Linked DNA regions of Homo sapiens: regions 1, 2 and 4 are each linked to region 3. The links are contacts of gene promoters, found by promoter capture Hi-C in human tissues and cell types (Jung and others, 2019). All regions are on one chromosome and are shown on one strand. Each heading gives the region's core, a stretch centred on a gene start or on the middle of the fragment in contact. The rest is flanking DNA. Distances are from core to core; before and after follow the strand shown. Region 1 overlaps RRM2B (ribonucleotide reductase regulatory TP53 inducible subunit M2B). Region 2 has its middle 7.6 kb from the start of MIR5680. Region 3 holds the start of YWHAZ (tyrosine 3-monooxygenase/tryptophan 5-monooxygenase activation protein zeta). Region 4 has its middle 50 kb from the start of RRM2B.

The links. Contacts are between HindIII fragments. The study calls those that stand out against the background at their distance.
Region 1: a fragment that was not itself captured here is called in contact with the fragment with the promoter of YWHAZ in region 3 in 1 of the 25 tissues and cell types used here (heart right ventricle).
Region 2: a fragment that was not itself captured here is called in contact with the fragment with the promoter of YWHAZ in region 3 in 1 of the 25 tissues and cell types used here (dorsolateral prefrontal cortex).
Region 4: a contact is called between a fragment that was not itself captured here and the fragment with the promoter of YWHAZ in region 3, in 1 of the 25 tissues and cell types used here (dorsolateral prefrontal cortex).

The regions. Positions count from the first base shown.
Region 1 is chr8:102,205,942-102,212,772 of GRCh38, forward strand. RRM2B (ribonucleotide reductase regulatory TP53 inducible subunit M2B) reads right to left here. Exons shown (of 9, transcript NM_015713.5): 9 at 1-2,344. The coding sequence ends at 2,192. Among named protein-coding and RNA genes, the nearest start is that of RRM2B, 30 kb to the right of the region's middle. The HindIII fragment of the contact is 3,373 bases long and covers 1,444-4,816 here.
Region 2 is chr8:102,114,674-102,121,006 of GRCh38, forward strand. It overlaps a transcript of NCALD not described here. Among named protein-coding and RNA genes, the nearest start is that of MIR5680, 7.6 kb to the right of the region's middle. The HindIII fragment of the contact is 4,908 bases long and covers 1-4,872 here.
Region 3 is chr8:100,950,558-100,957,866 of GRCh38, forward strand. It overlaps YWHAZ (tyrosine 3-monooxygenase/tryptophan 5-monooxygenase activation protein zeta), which reads right to left and starts at 1,463. Exons shown (of 6, transcript NM_145690.3): 1 at 1,372-1,463. RefSeq lists enhancers at 1-701, 328-407, 1,560-2,418, 2,698-2,807, 2,818-2,947 and 1 more and silencers at 1-207, 598-1,367, 1,598-1,857, 1,878-2,557. The HindIII fragment of the contact is 8,101 bases long and covers 70-7,309 here.
Region 4 is chr8:102,185,711-102,192,142 of GRCh38, forward strand. No RefSeq gene overlaps it. Among named protein-coding and RNA genes, the nearest start is that of RRM2B, 50 kb to the right of the region's middle. RefSeq lists an enhancer at 5,125-5,742. The HindIII fragment of the contact is 4,036 bases long and covers 3,047-6,432 here.

The DNA.
Region 1 (6,831 bases), core at 1,880-4,379, 1.3 Mb after region 3:
TAAGGCATCTGTCATTACCTATGAAAAAGATTTGGATTCAAAACAAAGGAATATACACTGTACAATTTTTTTTCTTTCATTCTGATGTCATTACAGATATTATCAGTTTTAAATGTTAAGTTTTTGTATGGCAATATATAAATATCTTTAAACATATTACCTGAATACAGTTCAAATGTCTCTCTATATTTTGATACTTTAATATATATATTTAAAGTATATTCAATTAATGAGGAAATAGACAAAAGCAAATCAACATAGATGGTAAAGGACTAAATCTGAGACATTACAACCTCTAAAAAAAAATACTGTACAGACAGTGACGATGAGCAGATCTTGGCCAAGTCATTTAACTTCCCTGAGCCTCATTCTTTCCATCTGTAATATTTCAATAACAGTTGCTCTGTCAAGCTGTTTTGAGATCAAATGAGATGATGTAAAAACACTTGGCAAACTGAAGCAATGCAAAAATTAATGGTATTATCATAGGCCAAAAGATCTCAAGTTTCTGACAGTGTATCTAACAAATAAAGTTATGGCCTGCTCCTTTTGCATTCACTTGAGAACTCCCAGTTTTGATTAGATTGTTATGGAAAGAATGGAGCCAAAATTTATGCAAAGAGAAAATCTCTAAGTTTTAGCATCCAGAATTGTATAAAGTACAGTTTGTTGGGAATGGGAAACAACTGCTTGAAGGGGTATACAGAATACCAAATAATAATGTATTAAAAATTCAGTATTTCAGTATTAAGACTTCTTCATCCAAAGACAGGTCTAACTCTAACTAGGCTCAGGCTACCTCTTGATACTTACTAAAAATAAATAGGGGCAGACTTCTCAAAAACCTTGGTTCCCGGCCTTTCATCAGACTCTTCTAGAGAAACCTCCTTTTCCCTCACCATTGGCTATCATGTTGCATAGTCACATTAAAAGAACTATCTCTTATAACAGCTCAAGAGTTTTAAAACCATAAAGAAACACAGCCTAAGTCAATTGCTGGTACACTATTCAGGCTGGTATAAATTTGAAATGATTCAATAATCCCTACCATGTTCTCCCTTTCTCAGTCCATAAGCCCTTCCTCTATGTATAAATGGTTCTCGGCCAGCTTTTTCCAATCTTTGTTCTGAGGAACACTAGCTGGGTGAGATGTTAACAGGTAAAAAACATCTGTGTTAAGTATGTTGGGAATATGCAGGGCGAGATAAATTTATGTACCACTGAACTGCTCAGTCTTTGATGTACTGACTGTACTTGCTAAAGAAGAATGAAGTGTTCAGCATTTCCCAAACTCATCTGACCACAGAATCCCCTTTTTCCCCCAAAAAAATATCTAGAGGAGCTAATAGCTCTTAGAATATTCTTTGGAAAATGCTATTCTAGCCTGATTCTAAACATTCCAGAGCTAAATCTGGCAATAGTTATGTTTTTAATTTCTGAAGAAGAATCATTTTTCTTATAAGGTCAACTACCATGATAACCTCCTGGTTTCCACTCCATAAGTAGGCTTCCCAAAGCAACTAACAACTAAATTTTCTTCACTACATACTAAGGAATTCAAAGAACTTATTCTTGCGTGAATGAGAATTATGTTCTTTTTAAGGAGATACTTATATTCTTCCCCTAAGCATTAAAAATACAAAGATCTAATTCTAGATCCTAGGACCTAGAATCACAATTATTTTAAGGAAATGAGAGTATTTTATTACAACATCATTGCAATTAATATTATCAATGAATGATAATTAGTAGTGGTGCTAACAGTAGTAGTGTTGGTTAAGCATTTATTTTTGCATCCTAATCCTAATATCCACTCTATGAATTTAGGACCTACTATTACTCCCATTTTAAAGATAAGTACACCGAGGTTTACCAAGATTAACTGACTTGCCAAGGGTCACACACTGGAGTAAGGGCAGAACCTTAGACTCATGTCTGACCCCTCGCCCCATGCTCTTAACCACATAATGCCATCTTTTATTTCAGTGACAAGACAAAAGCATTTAGGTCACACTCTTGTTGTTAAACAGGAAAATTATATAAATGCAAATTGTTTAGAATAGGTTTTGGATTTCCTTTTGAGCAAACCCCCAGTCCTTTAAAGGATATACTTAAAATTTTTTTTAAGCAGAGGAAAATAGACTACTATTTACCAATGACAAGTTTATAGAGTTTTAAAACGAGAGGTTTTTTAAAAATCTGCATCCAAGGTGAAGACGTTATCTGTGGTTTCTGCCATAACTGCAAAACGCTGATACTCTGAAACTCGTTTCTCAAAGAAATTTGTTTTTCCTTCTAAAGAAATGTTTTCCATAAAATCAAAAGGATTTTCTGCCTGAAAAACCTAAAAAGGAAAGAAATATTATTAGACATTCTGAAGAGATCAAATTACATCCACAATAAGAGCAAAGATGACCAAAACAGAGGTCAGGTTTCTCAAAACCTATCTAGTCAGCTACAAGATCATATCATTCCCCTAAGACCCTGGAGGTACTCAAGGCTGACAAATTTTAAGATGACCCAAGATCAACCACTAATCTCCTCAAGAAACTGTACTAGCATCTCTGGTATTCTAATAAATAGAAAAAAAAACACAACTATTTCAGGAATTGAAATATTTAATACTAACCAATAGAAAATGTTCTCACAGCTTGAGATATCCAATACACCATGAGCATTTTTCATAGATATTACTATTAGTCAGACATACATGATACTATAAAATGTTAAATTAGCAACAATCCACTGTGGTTCTAAGTATGTTTCTTAGTTTATAAGAGAACAGATAATCAACAAATTGTCATTAAGGGAACATGATCAGGGAAGACAGAATAAATGTTATCCATAGTGACTAGATGTCTCCAAACAAAAAGGGGGACTATGCTAACAAGAAGCTTTTTTACTGCTTCAGAATTCAAGAAACAAGGCCGAGCATGGTGGCTCATGCCTGTAATCTCAGCACTTTGGGAGGCCGAGGTAGGTGGGATCACCTGAAGTCAGGAGTTTGAGACCAGCCTGACTGACATGGTGAAACCCTGTCTCTACTAAAAGTACAAAAATTAGCTGGGCGTGGTAGCAGATGCCTGTAATCCAAGCTACTCAAGAGGCTGAGGCAGGAGAATTGCTTGAACCTGAGAGGCAGAGGTTGCAGTGAGCCAAGATCATGCCATTGCACTGTAGCCTGGGCAACAGAGTAAGACTCCATTTCAAAAAAAAAAGAATTCAAGAAGCAGACTTGGAGATACAGCTTGATGGAAACTGTGGGATATTTCAGTGATTCACAAGGAGTAACAAAAGAGGATTTCTCAATTTAGGAGTATCCCAGCAAAAAATATGAACACTACAGATAAACATATATTCAAGTAACCCAATTTTAAATATGGGCAGAGTGTCTAAATAGACAAACTGATACTTCTTTAAAGAAGATATACAAAATGAAAAGATGCTCAGCATCCTTATCCATTAGAGACATGCAAATCAAGATCACAATGAGATACCACTTCCCACCTACTCGGATGGCTATAATTTTTTAAAAAACAGGTAATAAGTGTTGGTGCGGATGTGGAGAAATTAGAACCCTCATACAGGGTGGGAATATAAAATTGTGCAGCTGCTTTAGAAAACAGTCTGGTAGTTCTTCTAATGATTAAACATGGAGTTACCATATGATCCAGCAATTTCACTCCTAGGTGTATACTTAAGAGATATGAAAACATGTCCACACAAAAATGTGTAAATGAACGTTCATAGTAGCATTATTCACAATAGATCAAAAGAGGAAACAACTTAAATGTCCATCGAATGGATAAATAAAATTTGGTATATCCATACAGTGGAATATTATTTATTTGGTCATATAAAGGAATAAAGCACTGATACATGCTACAACATGAATGCACCATGAAAACACACTAAGGAAAGAAGAGAACCACAAAAGGCCACATATTATATGATTCCATTTGTATGAAATAGAATATGCAGAATAGGCAAATCTACAGACGCAGAATAGGCAAATCTACAGACACAAAAATTAGATTAGTGGTTGCCTAAGGCAAGGTGGGTAAGGGGAGGAAAGAGGAGTGACTGACTGCTAATAGGGATACAGTTTCTTTATGGGGTGATAAAAATGTTCTAAAATAGGTTGTTATGATGGTTGTACAACTCTGTGACTACACTAAAAACTATTGAATTGTACATTTTAAATGGGTGAATTGCATGCTATGTGACTTAATCTTTAAATAAAGCTTTAAATATTTATGTATCTTTTTTCCAAAAACTCATATGCTGGGTGTGGCTGAGTGAAATTCTATGAAATTCTCCATCAGAAATTGTGTGTAAAAAGTGAGGGAATATTGGAGCTGTAATATACAGCAAGATACAGTGAAAGGGCACTGAACCAATAGCCATAGACTCACTAGATGTTAGAACTGAAGACTTTTCAAAAAATTAGATCTAAGTCATTCATGGCATGGACAAAGTAACCAAGACCAAAAAAACAAACTAAATTAAGTGGCTTGTTTTTGGTGGGTTTTTTTTTTGACACAGAGTTTCGGTCTTTTTGCCCAGGCTGGAGTGCAATGGCACAATCTCGGCTCACTGCAACCTCTGCCTCCTGGGTTCAAGCGATTCTCTCGCCTCAGCCTCCCGAGTAGCTAGGATTACAGGCACCCACCACCATGCCCAGCTAATTGTTGTATTTTTAGTAGAGACAGGGTTTCACCATGTTGGCCAGGCTGGTCTTGAACTCCTGACCTCAGGTGATCCACCTGCCTCAGCTTCCCAAAATTTTGGGATTACAGGCATGAGCCACTGTGCCCAGCCTTATTATTATTTTTATTTGTAGAGATAGGGTCTTGCTATATTGCTGAAACTAGTGTGGAACTCCTGGGGTCGAGCAATCCTCCTGCCTTGGCCTCCGAAGTGCTGGGATTATAGGAGTCAGCCACAAGGCCCAGCTCCTACAAGTTTTGATACATAGTAATCATATTGTCATTTACTTTATATTTTCAATTAATTTTTATTTTCATTTTAAATCTCATTTTAAAGGAGATACATGTATATGCAGAGAGAGAGAGAGAGAGAGCGAGAGAGAAAGGGTCTCACTCTGTTGCTCAGGCTGGAGTGCCGTGGCACAATCTCAGCTCACTGCAACCTCTGCCTCCCAGGCTCAAGTGATCCTCCCAGCTCAGCTTCCCAAGTAACTGGGACTACAGGCATGCCACCAGGCCTGGCTAATTTTTTGTAGGATTTCGCCATGTTGCCTAGGCTGGTCTCAAACTCCTAGACTCAAGTGATTCTTCCACCTCAGCCTCCCAGAGTTCTGGGATTAGAGGTGTGAGCCACCGCACCTGGCCTAACGGATATATTTTTAATCTCTAAGTAGATTAAGCTTTTTGGCAATTTTTAAATCAGTTTCTACTTTCATTGCATTAAAAATCTAAGGCCTCTATAATTTCTGCTTTTTAGAATTTACTCAGATATTTTGAAGCCTGTGGAAAAACAAAGTTTTACATTGTGTTTAGACCTTCTCCTGCAGGAGGTGGCATGTTTTACATACCTACAGTTAGCAAGTTCCCAAAAGGAAAATTAGACCCAAGGGTCAGCAGTTTTCTAATAAGCAGCAGAACATGAACGTGTGGATGTGAGGATATGGTAATGGGTTAAAGAATAGCGAATTCACTGTAAGGCTTAAATAAGCAAATTCATTTTCTAATAACAAAAATATTGGTAAAAGTTATGAACAAACACAATTTCTTTTAATATACATAGTTTATAAGTTTAAGAGATTATATTAATATAGTTATAATCTTGATTTCTCATTAATTAGTAAACACAGAGAGGATCTTGCAACTAAAATGTTAAAATGTAGTTTATCTTACCAAAAAAACCTACGCCCCACTTGACTTTTTCATTAAGTACCTGGGTGGTTATCAGAATATAATTCTGCTATATCTGCTAATACAACATTAGCAAGATAGGTAATGATTACCACAGCATCATAGATTTCATAAGGATTCTCATTAAAGATAATTTGAACTTACATTTTCATGACAAGAAATCAAAATCTGTATTTCTAATTACCATGGTATAGTACATAGTGAATTTCTGTGTTTCACTTAAGTACAAAGTGACCATCTAGTGTGAGTTTATTATGTGTCTAATATTATTTTAAGTGCTTTAAGTGTATCAACTCATCAACAATCCTTTGTAGTAAATATTATTACTATCTCTAATTTATAGATGAGGAAACTGAGATAGTTAAGCAACCTGCCAAAGGTCACACAGCTAGAAAGTGGTGGAACCAGGATTCAAACCCAGATAGTGTGGCTGCAGGCTCCATGTCTTAAGTAATGGGAAAACCGCACTGATGAAATTCAGGTACATTATCTCTGATAAATGACAAAAATAACTTGAATAACTCTGTTCAAAGAGTTATATTGTGACAGTTAATGTCTTCCTAATAACTATTCCCTATTTAAAAGTATTAACTCCCAAACCACAATATAGACACATGGCGATTTATATGAGGGTGAATATATATATGCATATTAAACCTAACTCCTTGAAAATAATCCTATTAAATATACAGCTACAATTATTGCAAAATAATTTATTGAGCTTATTAGTTCTAATATTTTACCAGCCTCCTACTTCAGTTATTAATTTTAAATTTCAAAGGATTTTGCAAAACCTTGTTCATACAAAACAAGTCTCTGTCATTGACATTTAAAAAATAGAATAGTATGTTACAAATGCTTTCAGTAAATTATACTTTAGGGTCCTTGCTTTCCTATAATATTTTAACTAGTAGTAACACATTTTTAAACACAT
Region 2 (6,333 bases), core at 1,169-3,668, 1.2 Mb after region 3:
CCTACCTCACTCTCCTCCCACCCTCCCGTCTCCTGCTGATTTCTGGCCAAATTATACCAGAAGTCAGAAGAAAAGATGGCCATTGACGCCAGTGGTAAAGATCACCTCTTGGGGCACAGAGCCAGGTGGAGAAGGGAGCCAGGGATGTGGAAGGGCCAACAGGAGATATCCAGGCCTCTTACTGCCCTTGCCCTACAGAAGAGCTGTGCTCCAACCAAGGCAGAGGAAACTGGCCTGGTCACTCTTTGGGAGTTAAGGTGCCAGGTAGGTAAAAGGACACCATCCTCAGCATATGCACAAAGCCAGGGCCAGTTTCATGAGCATGTGACCTGTGCCATCACACAGGCCCCATACTCAGCAGGGCCCCATGCTGGCATTAATCCTCCACTAGCACCATCTTCAAATTCTTAATTTTTTTAAACAAAGTTCCCACACTTTCATTTTGTTGTGAGCCCCACAAACTGTGTAGTTGGTCCCCTGCAAGGCAAACCTTTTCTTCAGGTAGTGAGACTAAATTCTGTAAGTATCACAGTATTCCGATACACTGTTAAAGCAAAAGGATCCAAAGTTAATATTAACCAGAGTAACAATGATACAGTAGGATAGGTAAGATGGTAACATGAAGGGGCACTTTACCTTTTTTTCTTTCCTTCCTCTCTTTTAAAGTCAAACTGTAAAGCAGCTGAGAAACCAAAATTAGCTGCCCCCTAGAGAGAAACTGACCTTAATTACACCTGCTACTCCATAGCACAGACTGAATGGATTTTGGCTCTTCCCCAGTTAATGCGATCAATGCAGACAATAAAACAGAATAATTGATGCCCTGGAGTGGACTTTTCTGATACACCTCATTTGATGGACTACAGTCATCGAATTCTCCAGGCCATTGCCAAAGCTACTCTTTACCTTGCCTTATGTGCCCGATGTACACAGGCCCTACTTTGGGGCTCACTGTTGAAAATACATAAATAAAAGACGTGCGGATGGGTCAATGGCATTCACAAACAATATTTGTAGTGGATGCTTCCTGAAGCATGGGCTTAGAAACTTGAGTCTCTGCTGCTTCTGCTTCCCTTTCCTGAAAGACTCCAGCATCCTTAGCCTTCCTCTGAGAAATTATATTTCTAAAAGCATCTGGGAAAGCCCCAGGTGAGAAGCCTGAACAGGACCAGTGGCAGCTCTTTTTCCCATTCATTTCCTTCAATGCCATCCAGCAAAGCAAAGCCCAGAAAACGTTTAGCTGAGACAGGGATCAAACTGGCTTCTGACAGCCTCTTTCACACCCCTTTATTTCAGAAGTAAAGGACGGTAGATTTTAAGTGTTTGTTTATTTTGTTGTTTAAAGTTAGAATAAAGTTGCAAATGATCAAATCAAAAGCATTTAGAAAACCTCTACTGTGTCAGAAGGGGAACATCACACACCGGGGCCTGTCGTAGGGTGGGGGGAGGCGGGAGGGATAGCATTAGGAGATATACCTAATGTAAATGATGAGTTAATGGGTGCAGCACAGCAACATGGCACATGTATACATATGTAACAAACCTGCACGTTGTGCACATGTACCCTAGAACTTAAAGTATAATAAACAAAAACAAAAACAAAAACAAACAAAAACAAAAACCTCTACTGTGTGTCAAGGAACCTAGAATCCAGACAGTAAATCAAATCTAGGGGCACCGTAACAGAGTCAGAGAATCCATAGTTGCCGTGTATCCTAACTACTGAGCTCTGTCATGGATTGAATGGTGGTGACCCCCAAAAAAAGTATGTCCAAGTGTCCAAGACTTTTTTGGGTTTCTTTTGTAGGGTGGTGGTGTTGTTGTTTTGAGACAAGGTATCGCTCTGTCACCCAGGCTGGAGTGCAGTGGGGTCAACATGGCTCACTGCCGCCTCCACCTCCCGGGCCCAAGAGATTCTCCTACCTCAGCCTCCCGAGTAGCTGGAACCACGGGTGCATGCCAAGAGGCCTAATTTTTTTTCTTTTACTTATTTTTATCTATTTATTTATTTTTTGGTAGAGATGGGGTCTCACCTTGTTGGCCAGGCTGTTTTTGAACTCCTGGGCTCAAGCAATCCTCCTGCCTCGACCTCCCAAAGTGCTGGGATTACAGACATGAGCCACTGGGCCTGGCCATAACCAAGCTTTAACCCCCGGAACCAGTGAATATGACCTTATTTGGAAAAAGGGTCTTTGCAGATGTCATAAAGGATCTTGAAATAAAATCATTCTGGATCACGCAGCTGGGTTCTAAATCCAGTGACAAATGTCTTTATAAAAGATGCGCAGAGGAGAGACACACAGAGAAGAGCAGGAAGCAATGTGACGTGCAGCGCAGCTCTAGTGATGCAACCTCATGCCCAAGAATGCTGCAGCTACCAGAAGCTAAAAGAGGCAAAGGATGAAGTCGCCCCTAGAATCCCTGGAGGAAGCACGGCATTTCGGCCTCAGACTTCTAGCCTCCGGAGCCGTGAGAGGATAAATATCTGTTGCATTCAACCACCATTTTGTGGTCATTTGTTTCAGCGGCCACAGGAAACAAATATAAGCTTACAGCCCCATCTCTCACCTGTGGCCTCAGCTTCACAATCTCCGGCCAGGGACTATATGAAGCCTTCCAAAGCAGCCCATTCCGTGTTCACAGTAGGCCTAGTTCTGGCCCCAGATGAGTCTAATCCCTTTCCCTCAGTACAGTGCTTTCATGTATGTGAAGAAAAGAATATAAAAGTCCCACAGAGCGATTCCAGGCCAGAGAGTCCCAGCTACTGTCCTCGGCATCCGCCAGCTCATGAGAAATCCCCTTAACTTGTACCAGTCAGGGCAGCACAGAGGGAACGATCCTCTCCCTTCCTTTGAACAGTATTCTCTTATTGCAGCCCAAGGTCTCACTAATGTTTAAACAGCCAGGTGACACTGTCAACTCCGTTGGCACTTTCAACTCAAAAAAAAAAAAAACGCAACTTACATCTTTTTCATGTGTAGCAAATGTGATTCAAGGACATGTTGTCACTCCCATCAAGTATATGGAAAATATTCTTTTTATCTAAACACAATGAATCAAGTATGAAATATGCCTGCAAAGTACATTATTTTTGTAAAAAGTGGGGGATCTGAGCAGGCACCCACACCACCTATTGACAGCCAAGCCAAGTTTGTACACATCAGATTATTTCCAAAGAACCAAAACACACAGGTTGGGGAAAACGTAACCTTCCAGATCCAGCTGCATATACAGAAGAAATGTGCTGATGATCTCTGATTATTTGTCAGTCTTCAGATTTCAGCTCCATAACCTGCACTAGCTCCCAATGTTGGTAAATCATTCAACCTCTCAATGCCTCGGTTCACTTACCTGTAAATTGGGGATAATTAGAACACTACTTTGTGTTGGCTACTATGGACTACAAGATAGTCCCACATCAACAGGCCTTCTTGCTGTCTGGCTGTGGCTAGTTTGGCCAATTGGGAGGCACCAGCACCAGATCAGAGAGTGGAAGAGAGTGGCTGGGGCCTTTATCCACCTGGATGCCTCCCCACCAGGCCACAATGGGCAGTAGTCATATTCCTCTACTGAAAACCACAGCTCCAGCCAGCAGCCCTGTCCCCTGAACAACTCCAGAAACTGCTCTCTCACCTCATGCTGTCAGGGCTGGGTAGTGAAGGCTTGCATGCACTGCTGGCCACTTCTGGTGGGTTCCCTGATCTTACCCGCACCTTTGTAAATAGTCCCTTCATTAACTTTCCTCAGTTACTGCCTTCTGAGCAGTTCATCCGCCTCCTTATGGGATGCTGGAGGAGGAATCTTTCATAGGATTTAGCAGAATTAATCAATACTTGAATCGCCTTTAGGCATTTGCTAGCATGAGTGCTATTATTAGCAACAGTAGTCTACTTCTGTGAGGAATCCTGGGCCATGAGATCTCTCGATGCCGTATTTACATTTCCTCCCCAAGTTCAGTACCATTTACTAGAGATAGACATATTTTCAGTTGTACAGATGTGGGGAAAACTATTATGTTCTCTCATCTAAATAATTAAAATAACTTCTCTGCTGCTTTCCTCTTCTCCCCACCCCCTCTCTAACGTCCAAACCTTCCGATCATGCCATTATCACAGGCAACAAATATCCAATGGTTCCCCATGACCCTAGAATGAAGTTTAAACTCTACCACTATTTCTCACAATTCAATTCCAACCTACCTTCAAGAATGTGTTCAACATTTCACACCTACTAGCATGGCTATTATATTAAAAGAAAAAACAGAAAATAACAAGTGTTGATGGAATCCTTGTGCATTGCTGGTGGGTATGTTAAATGGTACCACCGTGGAAAACAGTGGATGTTCCTCCAAAACTTAAACACAGAATTGCCATATAACTCAGCATTTCCACTTCTGGGTATATACCCAGAAGAACTGAAAACAGGGAGTTGAACATATCACTGTACACCCATATTCACAGCAGTGTTTTCACAGTAGCCAAAAGATGGAAGCAACCCAAACGTCCATCAGCAGATGCATGGATAAACAAAGTGTGGTACATACATACAATGGAACAGTATTCCACCTTAAAAAGGAAAGAAATTCTGCCCATGTTACAACACGGATGATCTCTGGGGACATTATTATAAGTGAAATAGGCCAGTCACAAAAAAGACAAATACCTTTTATATGAGGTACCTAGAGTAGTCAATTCATAGAGACAGAAAGTAGAATAGTGGTTGCCAGAGGTTGGAAGGGAGGAGGAGATAGGAAGTTAGTGTTTAGTGGAAACAGAGTTTCAGCTGGGCAGGATGAAGAAGTTCTGGAGATGGATGGTGGTGATGGTTGCACAATAATGTGAATGTATTTAAAGCCACTGAACTGTACGTTTAAGAATGGTTAAAATGGTCAATTTTATGTTATGTATATTTAACCACAGTTTTTTAAAAGGTTGTATTCAAGAAATATTTATTGCTTGCCTATGGCACAAAGCACTGTACTGGGGCTGCCTCAGGAAACAAAATGCAAGACCACCATCCCCAGGAAGGGAACTTACCTCCTGCACATTCCCCTACCTGCTCCAGATTCTAGTCAATCCCTTCCCTAATTATGTCTTGCACTTTCACATTAGAATATAAATTCCTAAAGACAGGGGACTAGATCTTATTCAGCCTGTATCCCTACAACCTAACAGAATGCTGAGCATGTAGAAACTGCTCAAGAATATTGGTCAAATAGTTGAGTAAAAATCCAGGCAGAGACGTCTATGTCATTTTTCTCATGTCTTCTAGCCAGTCAGAACTTAAAATTTCTTGAAGTTATATAGCTATACTTGCAGGAATAGAGAGGCTAGAGCTTCACACTAAGCTCACTAAACTCACTTTAAATACTCTGTTCACAAGTAATTCTACTAAGTGCATAAATTGTGGATTTCAGATGAGAACTCCACTATTTACTGACCATGTGACCTTGAGCAAATTATTGCGTGCTTCTAACGCTGTTTCTCTTATCTATGAAGAGGGAATGCTAACAGTCCTATAGTGAACATCTGTTGCTTTGCAATCCAAAATCCAGGGGCTCATCTCTTGGTGAGAGTATAACAATTTTCTGCTGAAGAAACACCCCTGCTCCTATTTCTCAGCCCGTCTCTAAGGATGAAACATGTGACATGTGATGAAGCCCAAGCCTAGTAACATGTGGCACCCTGGTCACAGGAATAGACACAGGACCCAATCAATGCTGACGAGCCAGAGTAAGTCATTGTGAGCAATGCCGGGATGGAGACTTCCACTTTCTGGCTGGATTTAAAGCCCAGACTATGTAAGGTCTGGAGCTCTTCCAGCCATCCTACAACGAGATGGGGCCTCAATGAGATGGTACTAAAAATGGTGCCGACTCCATGAAAGCAAGCTGAGAAAAATAGAGAAATGAGGTCCCGCTAACAATGTTTGAGGCCTGAATCAGGCCATATCCGAAATGTCTTCCTCTGGACTGAGGAGTTATCAGAGCCAAAATAACATTCCTTTTTTGCTAAAACAGTTTGAATGTTGGGGTTCCTGACACAACAGAATTGAGTCCTAAGTAAAATATCTCCTGAAAAATTATCATAAATGTTAAATGAGGTATTCCATGTAAACCAGGGCCACATAGTACACACTCAATAAATGCCAATATCAATGTTAACTGCAGTGATTGTTCATTGTTGTGGTAGAAAGTTCCTGCCTTCTAGGGACTTTTAACTCATGTGCTCTATCCCTGATTTCTGTCTTCATTATCCGCAAATGATATTCTCTAGGATAGGAATGGTAAAGACTATTCCCTAATCCCATTCCCTAGCAGACAGACATCACTAG
Region 3 (7,309 bases), core at 213-2,712:
GGCGGATCTGTGTCAGGGAGCCCAACCTACTGCAGAGTGTTAATTCCTCCCCCCGACCGGAGCCAGAGGGAGGAGCAGCCCGCGCCCCCGCCCAAGCCGTGGGGGGGGGGGAGAGATGGGGAGCGAAGCCGCCCGACCCCGGGGCAGAGACGCCACAGCAGCCCGCAGAAGCGGAACCACTACCAGCCCCGCCGCGGACACACCCCGCTCTCCCACCCAGCGCCTTCCCCGCCACCGATCAGCGCCGGTGACCGTGTACAGCGTCTCTAAGGGACCGACAGCTGCAGGTGGGGGAGGGGACGAGAGCCACACCCAGCCGAGCGGGCCACCAGCGGCTATGCTCAGGCTCACCCGCCCCCAAAGCAGGATATGCGTCCCCAAACCGAGCGCAGGGACCCTCCAGTTCTAGTCCATCAAGCACGGGAGCCGACTGCGGGCTCACCACCCTGTTCTCTACCCCGACCTGGACTTGCAGCCCCCGTCCACACCTCCCCCGCCCGTTCACAAGGAGCAAAAAAAGTCAGACCCATCCCCCACCCCCACCAGGAAAATTCAAGTCCTTCCTCCCACCGCGGAGCCCAGGAAATTCAGCTCTAGGTCCCAGGCGAGCCCCACCCCAAAACCTCACCCCGCAGTGGACTCCCCTCCCGCCGGCGCGCAGCCTCGCCCCGGTCTACCTGGCGGGCGCCGCCGCGCCAGGCCTGGGCTCCGGCCCGCTCTCGGCCAGGCCTTTCCCTCGCGCTTGGGTCCCCGAGGCCCCCGGCCCCTCCCCGCCGCGCCACCGCCTCCCGGGGTGGGGGAGGGCCGGGTCCCGCCGCCGCAGCGCCCAGCGCGGAGGCTGCGCGAGGGGGAGGGAAAGGAGGGGGCGGCCGAGGGAGAGGGGAGGGGGCGGCCTCACCTGCGCCACTGCGATGCCCGCCGCCGCCGCCGCCGAGTCATTATCTCGGGCGGAAGCGAGAAGGGCGGCGAGGGAGGGGGTGGAAGCCCGCAGAGACAAGGGTGGGGATGGATCGCGGCCGGCGGCGCCCCGGCCATGCCTCGTCCACCTTCGGGAGCCGGCGACAGGGAGATCCCCAGGGATCTCGCGTGTGGGCGCCCTACCCACCCCCGGGGGCAGGACGGGGGAGCGAGCACCGATCGGCGCCGGGGCGTCGATGCGGAAGCAAGGAGCCGGAGGCGGCCGCTAGCCGCCCTCCCGAGCCCAGCGGAAGAGGAGCCGCCGCCCGTGTCCGCTGAGGAGACTCCGCCTCAGCCCGGCGCCGCCACCGCGGGGCGAGTGGGGATGAGGGGACGGAGCGAGGACGGCTCCCACGCGTTCGGAAGGCTGGCCTGGGACAGGAAGCGAGGCGCGGCGGCGGCCGGGTTCCTCACCTGTGTCCGGAGTGGGTGGTGGCGGCGGACGGACGGGCTCAGCAGTCTCTGGGCGGCGGCGGCGGCAGCAGCGGCGAGGCTGAGACTCTGTCCCTGGATCTCGCTGCTCACAGGCTACAGCCGCTCCGCAGACACGGGGTTTCCTCCAATCACCAGCCCCGGCAGCAGGGGCACCACACGCACGATGACGTCAAACGCTGCTATGGCAACCGTTGATTGGTGCCCACAGCGATCGGGGCCCCGCGTAACCGCCGCTCCCCGGCGCTCGTCCTGCCCGCCCGCGCTGGAGGGCGAGCGGAGGCGCGCGCGTCCTCGCCCGCAGCCGCCACTCCTCCCACCCCGCTCGGCTTCCAGCTCCTCTACGCTTGTCCCGAGTGCACCTAGGGCAGGAGGCTGCTTTTTTCCTTTTCCTCCCCAACGCAAATCCCCCACTCCTCGCCTTCCCTTTGGGTCCCCAACGCCCTCTCTCTCCCTCTCCCCTGCAGCCTCTGCCGGCCCACTCTTCCTCTCAGCCGGCGGGAAGGCGTTCTCTCCCTACCCCCACCTTAGCTTTCGCTCAGCCCGTCTGCGCTTGCCCCAGTCACTCCCTCTGGAAGGGGCTCCCGTTCAGCAACATCCGGGACCTTTCACATCCCCCCACCCCTCCCCGAGGCCCGGCCCGCCCCACCCTCCGTGCTTCGCGGTAGTAACTGCCCCAGGGCCGTCCCCGGGCAGGATGACAAGGGTGGCTCGGCGGCTCCGGCATTGTGATCAGGACTTGCGGGGCGGGGGCCCCGGGGCGGGGGCAGGGCGCGGTCGCACGGCAAGGGAGGGTTGTGTGTGGTGCGCTGCCCCCCGCCCCGCCCGCCGCTCCCCTTCCCCGGCTGGGCCGACCGGGGCGCGCGGCCCCTCCCGGCCTCCCTCCCGCCGCCGCGGCTTTACCTGCTGGCTCGGGGGAAGCGGTCCTAGACCTTTTATGGCTCGGAAACGGGAGTGAGGCGTCCAGCCCCTGAGTGTGGCTGAGTGATGGGGAGGCGTTCCAATCGAGAGCGCGGGATCTGCGCTCGGTGACTGCGCGAGGGGACAATGGGTGGGCGCCGAGGTGGGGGCGAGGTGGGCCGGGCCGGGCGGAGCCGGCAGGAGGTGAGGCCTGGAAGGAGGCGCGGCCGCTTTAGGGAAGCCAGAGTTCCGAGGGGAAAGGACAGCCTTCTCGGGCGGAGGGCTGGAGCTGGTCCTGGCAGCCTTGACCCGGAGACAGGCAGTCAGGCGTGACCGCACGGACCCGTTTCTCGTAGGCTAGGTTTTCCTACCCAAATAAAGCTTTCACGTGAAGACCTCATACTGCACATGACGATCATTACCTTTTTATCTCCTAGAAGCAAGGTTTGAGGGACGTCGTAGTCCCCAGGGTTCCAGCTGGCGGTGGGAGTGGGCCACAGGCCGGGTGATGAGCCGGGACGGGAGCCCGGAAGAAGGGGAAGGAGAAAGGCGGAAATTGCAGGTGCCTGAACCGGTAGGGCCTCCGCCCAGTTGACTTCAGGAAGTTCAGAGAGAAACATTCACAGTGTGAATGATCTCTGCCCCTTCCCTCTTTAAATGTGTTCGGGCTAAGAAAAGATTAGTGCTTGGATGACCTGCAAAACCACTTGCAACAGCCATGGAGAGTGTACGGTTAGCAATGAGAGAGCTTGGAACTCTTCATTTTACTCTTGTGTAAACTCCCCATTGATTCTTCCAACGTATCTTTATTGAGCTGACCAGAGCCTCCGTTTAGCCTCATGTTCTCTACAGAATTTAGTTTCTCAGTAGTAGACACGAAATGATTGAGTCCTCGCTCTTCCAGTACATTGTCTTTCCTACATAATACAGTGGACCACAAGGCTGCTCTACAAATTACTTTTTGCCTGACATGACAGCTGGCATTTAGATAGTACAGACCAGAAAGAGGGTTTCCAGTGACCAGTTATATTTTAGTGGGTTTTTTTGTTGTTGCTTTTCACAAGTTGCCAAATCACAGACTCATGGTAGGTTAAATGGATAAACAAATTGGAGTTTTATTTCTGAGATGTTAGGGTCAACTAGCTTTGACTCCCAAGTAAATTCTTTTAGGGCGTGACTCACTTAAAATGAGTAATATTTCAAAAGCTATTTTTTTTACAGTTTTTTCGTAGGCACCAGAAATTTGACAGAGGATACTAAGTTAAACGTTTTTTTAAAATGGAAATTGATGTTTCTTTAATGTCTCAAATATATGTCTATGTAGAGTATATGCCTTTTGTTTTAGAGGAAGTTAAGGGGTTTTTCTGTATAAATATGGATTTACTTCAGGAAACAGCTAAGTTAGGCTTTTGCCTCATGCTTTAATAGCAAGGCATTTTTTAGTGCAACAATAGGCACTGTTAGGTTTTACATACTCAAGTCAATGTGTCTGCACAATAAAGATATAATGAAGCTGCAAGAAAGGAACGGGATGTTATGAAAGCCCTGAGGAAAAGATCTTTTAAGAAATAAGGAATAACCTGTGGCATACAGAGCAGAATAAATAGAACCTATGAACCCTGGGAACTTTGCTGGAGACTTTCACTAATACCCTGACCTGTATTTTCTTCAATGCGCAACTCTTACCTCACTCAAGTTGGTTAACCTCTATGTGCTTTGATAGCCACGGCAATAAAATACTGGCAACAAAAACACTTAACTCATCAGGTGATGCTGAGGATTAAACGAATATACACATACATATATTTCTTAGAGTAACCTAGCTATTATTCATTTGTAAATGGATATATCTGATTGATATCTCTAGTGTTCAAAAGATTGTAAAGATAAAATGAAACTATTTTCTTTTTGATTTTTAGGAAACTTCAGTAGCAGAAAGAAACCATATTTTTAAAGTATCTTTTAGAAATAGAAATGCCTATTTGTGTTTCTTAGTGCTGAGACATGAGTGATGAGGGTGAATATTGATTCATTCCTCTATAGGGGACTGCAATGATCTCTTCAAAGCTATACATCAATATATAATGCTATACATTAAAATGAGAAAAAGCCCAGGCACAGTGGTTCACTCTCATTATCTCAGCACTTTGGGAGGCAGGCAGATAGCTTGAGTCCACGGGTTCAAGACCAGCCTGGGCAACATGGCAAGACCCCTTCTCTACAAAAAATACAAAAAGTAGCTGGACATGGTGGCATGTGCCTGCGGTCCCAGCTACTGGGGAGGCTGAGGTGGGAGGATCATTTGAGCCCGGAAGGTAGAGGCTGCAGTTAGCTGTGATTGTGTCACTACACTACAGCCTGGGCAACAAAGCGAGACCCTGTCTCAAAAATGAAACACTAAAATGGGAAAGAGTTTAAGTGAATTAGCACAAGTCCATCCCTCCAATTGGGAAAACATCTCCAAGGATGGACTCTGTTGATGATGTGGCAGTTATATGATATTTTAAGTGTAATCACAATTCTGTCAGGCTATAATTTCACTTCACTGTGTTTTATTTGGAGAAATCCAACATATTGCAGAAGGTTTTGCAGCAGAACAGGGACTAAATCTTGGTTTGTCATTCAGAACTGTGTGACCTTAGGTTTCTGAATTGGACATACCAATTTCTAATCCCATTATAATGGTTGTTGCAATGATTTCATGAGAAAGTAAGGAAAGGGCTACCTACATGTAGTACACCAGATCATGTATATCTGTTGTTGAAATAATCTGCAGTTAGTAGCAGAGACAAGCTAGCTATTCACCAAACCCATTTTTCTCCTCTTGCTGCCCCAGTTGGACTCCATTGCCCATTCTCCTTTGCAATTACATGTGGCCATGTTACTGAGTGCTGGCTAATGGGGTATGACCGCAGGCATGTGCTCCACTTGCAGGCCTGGCCCATAAAAATCTCCCTGTTTGAATGTTCATTCCATTCCTGTTTTTCCGGCTGAATGGAGAGGATTCCCAGGGCTTAGAGGCAGTGAGGTCATAAAATGAAGACAGCCTGGGTCCCTGGAAGCCTATGAAAGCCTGCCCCAATCATTTTGGAGTTTACTGAGGGATAACTTCTATTTTAGGCCGCCGCAATTGAGAGTTTATCTGTTAAAACAGCTAGCACTATAATGTCCGTGAAAGTAATTGGCAAATCTAAAAGATGGGAAAGATTTTTTTTTAAATGAAAGAAAAGGGGAGGAAAAATGAGAGTAAGGAAAGGGAAACTGATCTTTTGATAAAAGGCAGTTGAAAGAAATACAGGCCAAGTGCAGTGGCTCACGCTTGTAATCCCAGGTCTGTGGGAGGGTGAGGTGGATGGATCACTTGAGCCCAGGAGTTGGAGATCAGCCTGGGCAACATGGTGAAATCCCGTCAATACAAAAAATACACAAAATTAGCTGGGTGTATGTGCCTGTAAATCCAGCTACTTGGGGGGCTGAGGCAGGAGGATCGATCACTTGAGCCTCGGAGGTTGAGGCTGTGGTGAGCTGTGATTGCACCACTGCACTCCAGCCTGGGTGACAGACTGACACCATCTCAAAAAGAAAAAATAAAGAAAAACATAAGTATTCTCAACTATTCTGTTGACTTCTAGAATTGTGTCCAGCATGGGTGGGTTCTTGGTCTCACTGACTTAAAAGAATGAAGCCACGGACTCTCTCGGTGAGTGTTACAGTTCTTAAAGGCGGCACATTTGGAGTTGTTCATTCTGATGTTCGGAGTTTCCTCCTTTTGGTGGGTTCCTGGCCTCGCTAGCTTCAGGAGTGAAGCTGCAGACCTTCGCGGTGTTGCAGCTCATAAATGCAGCGTGGACCGAAGGAGTGAGCAATAGCAAGATTTATTGCAAAAACCAAAAGAGCAAAGCTTCCACAGCGCCAAAGAGGACCCAAGGGGATTTCCACTGTGGTCTTGGGCAGACCTGCTTTTATTCTCTTATCTGGCCCCACCCACATCCTGCTGATTGGTCCATTTTACAGAGAGCCGATTGGTCTGTTTTACAGAGAGCTGATTGGTCTGTTTTGACAATGTGCTGATTGGTGCGTTTGCAATCCCTGAGCTAGACACAAACGTTCTCCACCTCCCCACTAGATTAGCTAGATACAGAGTGTCCACTGGTGCATTCGCAAACCCTGAGCTAGACACAGGGTGCTGATTGGTGTGTATACAAACCTTGAGCTAGATACAGAGTGCCGATTGGTGTATTTACAATCCCTTAGCTAGACATAAAGATTCTCCAAGTCCCCACCAGACTCAGGAGCCCAGCTGGCTTCACCCAGTAGATCCTGCACGGATACACCTGCACTCCTCAGTCCTTGGGCGGTCGATGGGACTGGGCGCCGTGGAGCAGGGAGTGGTGCTCGGTGGGGCGGGGGAGGCTCAGGCATGGCGGGCTGCAGGTGCCAAGCCCTGCCCTGCTGGGAGGCAGCTAAGGCCCAGCAAGAAATCGAGCACAGCAGCTGCTGGCCCAGGTGCTAAGCCACTCACTGCTTGGGGCTTGCACGCCGGCCAGCTGCGCCAAGTGCGGGCCCACCGAGCCCACTCCCACCCGGAACTTGCGGTGGCCCACAAGTGCGCGTGCAGCCCCAGTTCCCGCCTGCGCCTCTCCCTCCACACCTCCCCTCAAGCTGAGGGAGCCGACTCCGGCCTCGGCCAGCCCAGGAAGGGGCTCCCACAGTGCAGCGGCGGGCTGAAGGGCTCCTCAAGCGCAGCCAGAGTGGGCGCCAAGGCCAGGGAGGCACTGAGAGGGAGCGAGGGCTGTGAGGGCTGCCAGCACACTGTCACCTCTCAGAATGACCTTAGAAAAGTAATATTTCCTCACTTAATTCTAAATACATTTAATAGTCTCACTACTTACTTTACTTTTTACTTTATTTGATACCATCTTCTACTATGTTAGCCTTGTTTTTCTTAAAAAAAAAAGTGTTTTAAACCCATACCTATTAACTCGATTCCTACATTGCAGACTCTAGCCCTGTGTTCTAT
Region 4 (6,432 bases), core at 3,815-6,314, 1.2 Mb after region 3:
ACGGGAAATACCTTCTCCAAATTGGTGCCCCTCTCAGTTAGAGTTACACTGTCTGCTCTGGCCAAAGTTTAAGGCTGGCACTCTTTTGTAGGCTCTTCTGAAGATTTGGGGGGAATTCTCCTGCAGGCCAATCCAGCTGCGATTCAGTCATGGGGGTTGGGGAGCGACACCAGCTTTCCCATCTGGCAGCCTCCGGTCCCCCCCAGCTCTCCTTTCCTGGGAATTTACCCACACCTACTTGCACTGTTGGAATTCCCTTCTATCGGGTGAAGACCCTCTTGGTTAGGACTTAGTCAGGTCCAGGCCAGCTCTTTCTCTGTTATGTGGGAATTGCTGCAAGTCCACCCCAGCATGACCTGTTGCCACCATCTGTGAGTTCTCTCAGTTGTGAGCACAGGTCACCTGTGTTCTCAACTGCAGGGAGCACATGTCAGCTCTCCAGGAGGTCCCATGGCAGCCCTCTCACCAGACTTGAAATGGGGGTAGCCCTCACCTCTCACCAGAGGGGAGTGGGGCTTACAACCAGATGGCATTTCTCTCCAAAGAAATTCATTTATGCTGTGTCCTTGTTCCGTTCCAACCAATCTCTATTTCCTTAATCTGGCTGAAGGGCTCAACAATATGGAACAGTTCCACACAGTTTCCTATGTAAATGAAGGAATCCGTCTTACACTCGTTTTGGTACCTGTTGGTCATTGTACTGGGGCATCTTGAAATTAAACCCCAATTATATCCATTTTAGAGCCACTCCATTCTTCCTCTCCTAGTATTAACAAAGCATTAAGAGTAAACTTTCAGGGAAAACTGCAATTCTCCTTTTCAACTCAACAGGAAAGACAATAGCAGAGCTCATGGGGTAATAATCTCTGTCCAGCCCTAGGCAGCCAAGCTGAAGGTCTTCTTGGACTTCTCTCAGGCACAAGCTCCATGAGAGGCAGGCAGGCTTCTGGTCTAGCCTGTGATAGTATGATTCTTTGATTACCATCAATTTGGTAATTCTCTTAGGGCTAAAGAACCAAGTGTTAAATACATCAAGTTGAACAAAACACCCTGAGAGAGACACATATCCCAAAGTATTTGGCTTTTAAGATGAATGTGAATTCTTATATTTTTAAATATTGTATTTCACATTTTTGGGAAGTTCCTCTCAAACTCTCACTGCTAGCCACAGAACAATTCCAAAACGATGGCTCTTCTTTGATGGCCCAAAGAAACGGTTTCAGAGAAGCCCCCAGTGCTCAGAACTCCATAGTCAACATTTATGGGTGAAATTGAGCTTGCAGAGCAAATGTGCCAGCTGCTTATTATTGTGAGGAGGATGTATGGGAAGGAGGGTGATCTCTGTGGCTAATGGAGTCCCGGCTACACCACTGAACAATGGACTGGAAAACCTAAAATCAAAGTCTTTCTGTTCCTGCCCTGAAGGACTCCAATAAACTTGGTGTCCCAGGAAATCCTAGTCCAGTCCAGACTGGAATCTAGAGTCTGGCTGTTTGAAAAACTTGTGGGCTGGGGACTCCTCCAGGTGTCTATTTGCCCAGCGTGGTAGCCCTAAGGGGTGTGTGTTTGTGTGTATGTACATGCATATCCAGCCCCCTCGATTATTTTTGAATCTCTGAAGAAAAATTAGAGGCAGACACTGGAGTAACTGTTTTCATGAGGGAATGTGTACGACACTGAGCACTTGAGGTCCTGCTTTGGAACCTTGGAGATGAATGAGGTACAAAGTTAGAGATGGGACTACCCTCCCCACCTCTGCATTGAGTCTATGACCAGGAGATGACACCTCAACACAGACGCTGGTGTTCTCATGGGGCACAGCACAAGGTGCCACTTGGGTCTCTCAGGCTGTTCTGTGAATGGAAGACAGTGGCCAGGAAAGCCAGAGGAGATGGCAGCAGATCCCTTCAGCAGCTGTGCCAGATGGACTGGTCCCTGAGGCAGCCTCTCCCAGCCTCTCAAAATACCTAAGGCTGGGGTGATGTCACCTGAGTAGGTGAGGGCATGAATGGGAAATGTAGGAGACTGACTATAGCAGTGCTTCCTGTGGGTCCACAGACAGACTCAGCCTTGATTCCTGACATTCAGCCAAGAAGCAGAGTGTATACAATGGGAGCTCTTACAAAAAAACAGTTGAACCTGGTTATAACATGACTCACATTGCATGGGTTAGGGCTTATTCTGGGGCAAATGCAGACTGGAAACAAATCCAGCACCTACCCCAACCTTGGAGTGAATAGAATCATCTCCAAATTCCCTCTGAGTGTGCAAATGCAAATTCTGGGCTCATTTCTGGAAAGTCTGATTGAGCAGATGTGAGGTGAGGCCTGGTTATCTGCTATAAGCACCCTCGGGAGCTTCCAAGCAGTAAGCCAAGGCCCAAGCTTTGACAAACACTGTCTAACAGTAATAAACCACCCAGCTGACTCACATGGCCAAAAATTGGAAACATTTTAATTCCTGTAAGATTGAAGGTGAACATCTGTACACCAAGGGTTATTATCCTGGCCCCCCTCCTCAAATAAGTTGTTTCTGATAGCAGGAGAAGTCTTTAAAGATGGTCTTGCTGCTGAAGGTCTCAAAGGTGACAAAAGTGTCCACCTGGCTGCCAGGTGAAAAGCTAGACTTTGCAAACAGGAATTTCCCATCTGAGGACACCTGCAACTTCCACATGTTTGCCTTGTGATCAGAATAAGGTCAGTCGTGAAAGGACCCTTGAACAAATGAATGAGGCAGACAAACAAGGTGCCATGGCTTTGTTCTGTGGGTAGAATGAAGAAAATGTGTTAAGTTGTCCAATGAGAAAGAAGACACAAAGGAACCATCCCCAGTGAAGGAAACTGACGCAACTGTCTTCATGAGCTTGCAAGGGAGAACAAAATGTTCAGAAGCTGAGCCCCCAAAACTTCAGAGACCTGGAATGAAAAGTGTGGGTGGTAAGGGAGGTAATAGGCAGAGTAACACAGCCTTAGGGATGGCCCGGCCTGACCACGGTGATAAAGGAGCTGTCTACACAATAGTGTTACCAACTTGAGGGGAGTTGGTATCTGCCTTAGCCTGGGGAAAAGCAAGAGGGCATCAAGCAGGGGAAGAGGAAGAAGGTCTGAAGGGTAGGCTGAGAGAAACAGAAGCCCACAGAGAGGGCTAGAGAGGCAGGGGGCAGGGCAACAGCCTAGAAGGCAGCCCTTGCCAAAATACCAAGCTAAGCCAGCGGTAGTATTCTATGTAATGTGTTTAATTGTATTGCTGCTGACTTATTTCCAGCTGTTATTCAGTTAATGTCCCAACTTCCTTGGACAGGAATAAATTTCAGGTCTTATTTCATTCCACAGTTCACTGGTTCTCCAACTCTAGTGTGCATCAGAACCACGTGGAAGGCATGTCAAAATACAGATCTGTGGGCCCCAACCCAGGGCTTCTGACTCAGCTGGGCCAGGGCCTCAGAAATTGCATTCTCACCAACTCCACGGTGATGCTGATGCTGCTGGTCTGAGCACCACACTTTAAAAACCACTAATAAAGAGCATCCTTCCCTTAAACAGGTAAAAGAAGATGGGAGGAAGCTGGAGACAAAGAGAATAAAGGAGCCTGGTAGGAGGCAGTCTGCAACAATGTAGGTAGGGCAGGTTACTCTATGCAGACTGATTTCAGTGCTCATGGGAAAGTTAAGAATAAGAAGATGTTTATATCAGCAGATTGATGCAATAAGCTTCACATGCAGAATTTACTACCTTGATTTGAAAGCAAATACCCCTGGGGAGAAAATAAAATTTATCAGTCATTTACACCTTACTCTGAATGAGTTTTAAATTTCATATCTATATGTCAGATTGTCATCTGTGAATATAGATCATTTTACTTCTTCCTTTCCAATTTGGATGCCTTTTAGTTCTTTTTGTAGCTTGACTGCTCTGGCTGGAACTTCCAGTACAATGTTGATTAGCAGTGAAGAAAGTAGGCTTCCTTGGCTTGTTCCTGAGTTGAGTGGGAAAGCTTTCAGTCTCCCACCATTGAGTGTTAGGCCATTCTTGTGTTGCTATAAAGAGATACCTGAGGCTGGGCCATTTATAAAGAAAAGAGGCTTAATTGGCTCACAGTTCTGCAGGCTATACAGGAAGCATGGTGCTGGCATCTGCTCACCTTCTGGGGAGGCCACAGGGAGCTTTTACTCATGGCAAAAGGTAAAGTGGCAGCTTGTACATTACATGGTAGGAGCAGGAGCAAGGGGGTTGGGGAAGGTGCCACACTTTATAACAACCAGATGTCATGAGGACTCACTCACTATCAGGAGGATAACAGCAAGCCATGAGAGATCTGCCCCCATGAGCCAAACACCTCCCACCAGGCCCCACCTCCAACATCAGGGATTACAATTCAATATGAGATTTGGTGGGGACATATATTCAAACTATATCATTCTGCCCCTGGCCCCACAAATCTCATATGCTCCTCATAGTGCAAAATATAATCATGCCTTCCCAAGAGCACCCCAAGGTCTTAATTCATTCCAGCATGAACTCAGAAGTCCAAAGTCTCATCTGAGACAAGGCAAGTCCCTTCCGTCTATGATACTGTAAAATCAAAAGCAAGTTATTTACTTCCAAAGTACAATGAGGGTACAGGCATTGGGTAAACATTCCCATTCCAAAAGGGAAAAAATTGGCCAAAAGAAAGAGATGAGAGGTGCCGTGGAAGTTCAAAACCCAGCCAGGCAATCATTAAATCTTAAAGCTCCTGAATAATCTCCTTTGACTCCATGTCCCAGATCCAGGGCACATTGCTGCAACAAGTGGGCTCCTAAGGCCTTAGGCAACTCCACCCCCACCTGTGTCTCTGTGGTGTCTACTCACCATGGCTGTTTTCATGAATTAGAGTTGGTAGCCTGTGGCTTTTCCAGGTGCAGAGTGCAAGCTGCTGGTGGATCTACCATTCTGGGATCTGGAGGACAGTGGCCTTCTACCCACAGCTCCACTAGGCAGTGCCCCAGTAGGGACTCTGTGAAGGGCCTCCAACTCCACATTTCCTCTCTGCACTGCCCTAGTAGAGGTTATCTGTGAGGGCTCTGCCCCTACAGCAGGCTTCTGCCTGGGCACCCAAGCTTTTTCATACATCTTCTGAAATCTAGGGGTAACCTTCCAAGCCTTATTCACTCTTGCATTCTGTGGATCCACAGGCTTAACATCATGTGGAAGCTGCCAAGCCTTACTGCTTACACCCTCTGGAGCTAGAGCAGAGGCCCGAGTTGTACCTGGATCCCTTTGAATTGTGGCTGTAGCTGGAGCTGCCTAGGTGTAGGGAACAGTGTCCTGAGGCTGCACAGAGCAGCAGGGCCCTGGGCCTGGTCCCCAAAACCATTCTCTCCTAGGCCTTTGGACCTGTGATGGGAGGGGCTGCCTCTGAGATCTCCAAAATGCCTTCAAGGCCTTTTCTCCCATTGTCTTGGCTATCAGCACCTGGCTCTTTCTTAGTTATGCAAATCTCTCTAGCAAGTGATTGCTCCACAGCCTGCTTGGATTCTTCCCCTGAAAACAGGCTTTTCTTTTCTACCACATGTCCAGGCTGCAAATTTTCCATACCTCTACCCTCTGCTTCCCTTTTAAATATAAATTCCAACTTTAGGTTATTTATTTGCTCCCACATCTGAATGTAGGCTATTAGAAACAGCCAGATCATATCTTGAATATTTTGCTGCTTAGAAATTTCTTCTACCAGATACTCTAGGTCATCACTCTCAAGTTCAAACTTCCCTAGATCCCTAGAGCATGGACACAATACATCCAAATCTTTGCTAAGGCATAACAGGGTGACCTTTGCTCTATTTCCTAATAAGATCTTCATTTCCATCTGAGACCTCAGCAGCCTAGACTTCACTGTCCATATCACTATCAGCATTTTGGTCACAGTGAATTAACCAGTCTCTAAGAAATTCCAATCTTTCCCTCATATTCCTGCCTTCTTCTGAGCCCTCCAAACCCTTCCAACTTCTGCCTCTTATCTAGTTCTATAGCTGCTTCCACATTTTCAGGTATCTTCATAGCAATGCCCAACTCCCAGTACCAACTTTTTGTGTTAGGCCATTCTTGTGTTGCTATAAAGAAATACCTGAGACTTGGTAATTTATTTTAAAAAGAGGTTTATTTGGTTCACTGTTCTACAGGCTGTACAGGAAGCATGGTGCTGGCACTTGCTCAGCTTCTGGGGAGGACTCTGGGAGCTTTTACTTATAGCAGAAGGCAAAGCAGGAGCTTGCACATCACATTGTGGGAGCAGGAACAAGAGAGAGTTGGGGCCAGCTCTCATGAGAACTCACTCACTATCAGGAGGACAGCACCAAACCATGAGGGATCTTCCCCATGACCCAAACACCTCCCACTAGGCCTCACCTCCAACAGTGGGGATTACAATTCAACATGAGATTTGGTAGGGACATAT